Linked DNA regions of Homo sapiens: region 1 is linked to region 2. The links are contacts of gene promoters, found by promoter capture Hi-C in human tissues and cell types (Jung and others, 2019). All regions are on one chromosome and are shown on one strand. Each heading gives the region's core, a stretch centred on a gene start or on the middle of the fragment in contact. The rest is flanking DNA. Distances are from core to core; before and after follow the strand shown. Region 1 overlaps LOC105370419 (a long non-coding RNA gene). Region 2 holds the start of NOVA1 (NOVA alternative splicing regulator 1).

What was found. Contacts are between HindIII fragments. The study calls those that stand out against the background at their distance.
Region 1: a fragment that was not itself captured here is called in contact with the fragment with the promoter of NOVA1 in region 2 in 1 of the 25 tissues and cell types used here (dorsolateral prefrontal cortex).

Annotation. Positions count from the first base shown.
Region 1 is chr14:26,967,061-26,969,991 of GRCh38, forward strand. It overlaps LOC105370419 (a long non-coding RNA gene), which reads left to right. Exons shown (of 3, transcript XR_001750687.1): 2 at 148-324. Among named protein-coding and RNA genes, the nearest start is that of MIR4307, 60 kb to the left of the region's middle. The HindIII fragment of the contact is 4,451 bases long and covers 1-2,931 here.
Region 2 is chr14:26,596,640-26,599,395 of GRCh38, forward strand. NOVA1 (NOVA alternative splicing regulator 1) reads right to left here and starts at 1,394. Exons shown (of 5, transcript NM_002515.3): 1 at 662-1,394. The coding sequence starts at 797. NOVA1-DT (NOVA1 divergent transcript) reads left to right here and starts at 2,008. Exons shown (of 7, transcript NR_147061.1): 1 at 2,008-2,756. The HindIII fragment of the contact is 5,668 bases long and covers 1-2,756 here.

The DNA.
Region 1 (2,931 bases), core at 178-2,677, 370 kb after region 2:
ATGACGTTGGGATGATGAATGAGCAATTCATCTAAAGCTTCCTTTGGATAGGCAAACAGTCTTAGACGTGTGTGAACTACTCTCCAGGCAGCTGGGGAATAGGTCAAGTCAATGCCATTCTTTCCCTGAAAGTACTTTCTGTTCTAGGCATGAGGTCCTTTCAAGGCAGCAAGAAGTATCACATAGATGACTCAGCGTCATGCACAGGTGCTGGTTGGATTCAGTTCTTGGACCTGGGATCATAGCCTATTCAGATTATCAGTGAGATGTTAAAGAATTCCTGTCCAGGATCAAAAACAAAGCAGGCATTCTCTCTTTTTTACGGTTGGTTTTCCATGATCCTTTTAAAGTGCAAATTCTCTGTTTTCCTAAAATTAATAGTTAAATCACTGCCTTAGATTTTGACTTGTTAACTGTTTTTTTTTCCTCTTTGTGACATTACTGAACTATCTTACATAAGCTTGACTGTCCTGTCCTCATCTATAAAAATGAAGATCAGATAATCTAAGTCACAGTGATATTTCCAGAGTTAAAAAGATAACACGTGCAAAATTATTGCAAAATCTTTGGGATGTAGACAGTTAGTACTCTTCCAAATACATAAATCAGAAATTTAGCTCTCCTGAGTATTTTGTTTTTATTCTTCAACTGTTACTGGTAGATAAATTATTAAAGATTAAAAATGTAAAATTGTGACTTAACTAAAATGTCTATATGAAAAATTAGAACTTCATTAAAGAGTTTTAGATTAAAGATTTTATGATCTGCATCGGCAATTTCCTAATTCTATTATATTTTATAACCCTGCTTTAGATCAGTGAAGGATGTACATCTTCACAAGAGTACAGCAGAAGCTGGAAAAGTCAGAGGCTGAGTAGCATCTCTGATTCTTTAATATCAGGTCACTCACTTGTTGAAACCTTTCTTTGTCCTTGAGGAGTTAATTAGATTTCCCTTATTTCCTTTGCATTATTAAAGATAAATAATAATTGTAAATTGAAGAAGCACTTCTAGATCCTTTCATGGTGATGGATAATCATTCAGAGTATAAACCAAGTGTTTAGCCATTTGTAGACTCATAGTGCATTTTAGAAGTAAGTAGAAAAAAAACAAAAACAAATGCTCTGATGAGATAAAAGTTGGAATGTATTTTGTATCTTAAATGATATTTTTTATTCTTCTCATTTTTTGTATAGTTAGACATTTAATATAACCAAACTTATGTAACATGAGGCAGAGTGTGGTCTGAAATCTTTACTTCAAAGTTATTTTGAAAAAAAAATAGAGCCAGAAATGTCATTTTGAGGTAGGAGTAGTCCCTTAACTACTATTATTATATAAGCTTAATGCTTCCTAAAATTCTACTGTATCAGAACACCCAGAATAAATTAGTGCTCTCTTATTGGTGGCTTTGAGGTCTTGTACAACTAAATGAAATTTAATATCATCTAAAAATATCTTATTGTAATAAAGAAGTCAAGATCATAATTTTAGTCAGCATCATTCTAAGATCTGGCAAATGTTATCCAAACTGAAGGAGCTAATAATATGCATTTTTTTTTTTTTTTTTGAGACGGAGTCTCGCTTTGTCACCCAGGCTGGAGTGCAGTGGCGCAATCTCGGCTCACTGCAAGCTCCGCCTCCTGGGTTCACGCCATTCCCTGGCCTCGGCCTCCCTAGTAGCTGGGACTACAGGCACCCGCCACCACGCCCAGCTATTTTTTTTTTTTTTTTTTGTATTTTTAGTAGAGACGGGGTTTCACCATGTTAGCCAGGATGGTCTCGATCTCCTGACCTCGTGATCCGCCCACCTCAGCCTCCCAAAGTGCTGGGATTTACAGGCATGAGCCACCACGCCCAGCCAATAATATACATTTTTATCAAAGTATCACAAACTTATATTGTAAGGAACTGTCAAAACAAATCTTACATCCATATTCTAGTGGCTGCTACCCCGAATGTACTTATAAATCAAATTCTATGCCTTTTTTCTAATTTTGTTGTAAGCATTAATTGTTAAGTTATTGTCAAGATTGACTATGGTCATGAAATTATGAATCTTCAGGAAGATATTCTGGTACTTTACCAAGCTTTGCAATGAAACAAATCCTCTTCCTAATTTCCAGGAATACGTCATTGTTTTTATTTCTTCTCTTGTTTCTGAGTACTCAGTTTCTGAGTACAACACATTTTGGGGGAAAACTTTACAGTGCCCACTATGACTTACTTTAAGGTTAGTTTAGGGTGAAATCTGATTGTAATTTAATCACTTCAACTTTTCTTAAAATACAAAGACAAAGAAAAGGATAGTTGAGAAAATAAAATATTCCAAAAATAGTTTTTCATGGTGACCTCTTACAAGATCTTGCTAAATTTCAACTGTCAAGGAAAAACTAGTCAATAAAATGAATATAATATTAACTGACTGTTTCATTAATGTTTAAGTTACTATCTCAGTAACTTTTACTTCTTTATTCATTTGACATATATTCACTAAGCATTATAAGATGCTTATAATGCTTAGCCAAATGTTGTAAAATTTTAAGCAACTAATAGTTTTAGAGAGGAAGGATTAAGTTAAATTAAAACTTAGGGATATTTTATATAAATAATTCAAATCAAATCAAAATCAAAACTACTGGTAATAACATATGAGTCCAGAGAAAAGGGAAAGGGATTTCTGAAGAAAAGCCAATTGATGATGTGTCAGGTAAGTAAGGCTTTGAGAGAGTGAGCATGGTTTGTATAGGTAGAAGAGAAAGATCATTCTAAAAAAAAATGAGGCTGGGTGCAGCGGCTCACACCTGTAATCCCAGCACTTTGGGAGGCCAAGGTGGGCGGATCACGAGGTCAGGAGATCGAGACCATCCTGGCTAACATGGTGAAACCCCGTCTCTACTAAAAACAAAAAATTAGCCGGGCGTGGTGGCG
Region 2 (2,756 bases), core at 144-2,643:
CCGTTAAAACTCATCTTCCAAGGAAGCGCAGGATGTTAACTAACAAGTCACCGTTCCAGACACCCCCACCCTCGTATGCACCCCCCTGAAGACAAATCAATGAAATATTTGCACCGACAATCTAAGTGCGGTAAGGGCATGCACTCATCAAGATTTTGCATACTACTTGTGGCCCAAAGCAAGAGGATGGAGAGAGGAAAAACTCTCCGGCGCCCCAGTCATTCGCAATCCGCTACCCAAGTGCCATTTATTTATTTATTTTATCAGACTGTTAAACGCAGCGCGCATCTTCGGGCGGCCATCACCTCACTCCGGGGTCATCCTCCTCCTCCTCCTGAATGGACCTTCTTGCCCAGGTCTAGGATATTTACATGGTCAACCTCTGGACCGATTAAATGGAAAGATAGGTCTATTCCGAAAAACTGGTCGCCATTTTGATGAATGATAAACACAGAAATGGAAATGTGTCGGGGACACCTAGGCGCGGGGCAGGTGCAGGGGAGGGGGCGCGGGGCAGGGGCGCAGGGGCCGCCGGGTTCGGGCTGGAGGTGTCCGGGCCGCGGGAGGGAGGGAGGGAAGGAGGGAGGGAGGACGGCGAGGGAGGGAGGCAGGGGCGGGCGGCGGGGGATGGGGCCAGCGGGGAGGTGGAAGCGATACCCACCGCCCGTATTGGTCCTCTTGGTGCTGCCGGCTTCAGGGGGGGCTTCCAGCGGCCTTTTCCGCGAGTCCGGCGGGTCCAGGTCTATGGGAACCCCAGTGTGGGTCCCGTTCTGCTGGATGGGAGCTGCCGCCATCATGTTTGCAGTTCCTGCCGCTGCTACCGGGAGAAGGTTCTCCCTTTTGTTTTGGCTTTTTCTTTTCTTTTTTCTTTTTTTTTTTTTTTTTTTTTTGCGTTTGGGGTTTCTTAAGGTTTTTTTTTTTTAATCGGATCAATATAAATCTCTTTAGGAAAAAAAGCAATGTTGCTGGTTTGTTCTCACTGGGGAGGGGGCAGGGCTGAGGAGCAGCTGCAGTGCAGTGTCAGAAAGGAGACAGGGGAATGGAGGGGGTGTGAGAGACGGAGGGTGAAAGAAGAAGAAGAAAGGAGACAGGGGGAGAGAGTGGAGAAGGGAGAGGGGCGAGTGAATGAGCGGGAGGAGGGGACCGGGGAGGACAGGCAGAGGGAGTGGGAGAGCGCGAGGGCTGGCGGGGCGCGGGGAGAAGCCGAGGAGGAGGGGAGAGTGAGGGAAAGAGTGAATGAGCAGGAGGAGGGGAAGGAGGTGGATGCCGAGAGAGGAGCGAGCGGCAGAGGAGGGCAGGAGCCGGGAAGGAGCGCGGCGGTCCCCGCGCCGCGCTAGCGTTGCGCTCGCTCCCGCTGCTGGTGCTGCCGCCGCCGCCGCTGCCGGAGCGGTTCTGCCGTTGCCTGGGCTGCTCGGCGCTGCTGCTGCTGCCGCCCGGTCTCGCTCATTATTTCTCCCGCTTGTTGGGGGGGGCTGGCGGGGAGGGAGGGGGGTGGCTGTGAGGGGAGGGTAGAGAGGGGTTGAGTTCGTAGACTCCCACACACTTCGCGCTCGGGTCCCTGCCTCTCAGCAGCGCCGCCGCCTCCCAGCGCCGATGCTTCAGCCGGCGGGGCGGCTGAGGGGTGAGGGGGAACTCCGCGGGCGGGGGCGAGGGAGCGTGTGTGCGCGAGCGTGTGCGCGCGCGAGGGGAGCGCGTGCGCGGTGAGGACGCGCGCCGGCGGTTGGGGCGGGGGCGGGGGCCGGGGCGCTCCTGTGGGAAGGGAGGGGTGAAAGGTCGCTGGTCCCCGGCAACACGGCTCAGGCAAACGTAAGCGGCTTGTCGCAGAAACCAAGGGGTCCACGAAACGCGCTAGGCTAGAAGGCGGGAAGGAGAGATTACTGACAGCCGTGCCAGCCAATAAAATAGAAATGTGAGAAAGGTTCTTCGGGCCCCTTCCCAATCAGGAAACTTGGGTGATGAGGGGCAGCGAAGGGGTGGGGTGGGATCTTGGTCCAGCTGGTACTGGAGCGGCGACAATTTTGGCTAGTCTAAGAAGGGCATTCGAGTGACCGTTGACAACGGGTGGGACAGCGTCAGAGCTGGAGGGAGAGCCAGCACTGTATGCTTCCAGGACTTCTTGCTAGGTGCATTAGTTTTTATTTTTAAGAGTTGGGTAAAAGACATTAATTAGTTAGCATCTCACTCATCGGCGATTTTCTACGGTATGATTTCATCCAAAGAGGATTTCTTAATCGCACTGTGTGACACCGTTAGGGGACTTAGAGTGTCACTCGCCGCCTTAAATCCTTTCGGGAACAAGCCAGGATATAAATAAATAAAGCTAGGTGTGGGTCTTCCCTTCACAAGGCGCTGGTAGGCAGACTAAAGACAGGCAACAGCTGAGTGTGCACACAGAACTAAATATTGAACGAAATACGAGTGTCGGAATAAAATTCATTGCCATGTGCACGGCTTATGATTATACAGATCTTGGACATATCACGGACCTGAACGTCAACCCTGCAACACCGGATAAAACATCTAATGTAGCTGGAATAGACTCTGAAAGGACGTTAGGCATTATCTAAATCAAGTCCCTCATTTTACAGATGAGTAAACTGACTCAGTGAAGTATTTTGCTCAAGGTCGTTCATCAAATTAGTAGTTTAATTAACTCAGTGTTCTAGGAAGCAGGGTAGTAGAAAAGCATGGGATTCGGAGTCTGAAATCTTCCTTGGTTTCTGGTCCTTGTAGGCTGTTTTACAAGTGTATCTTGG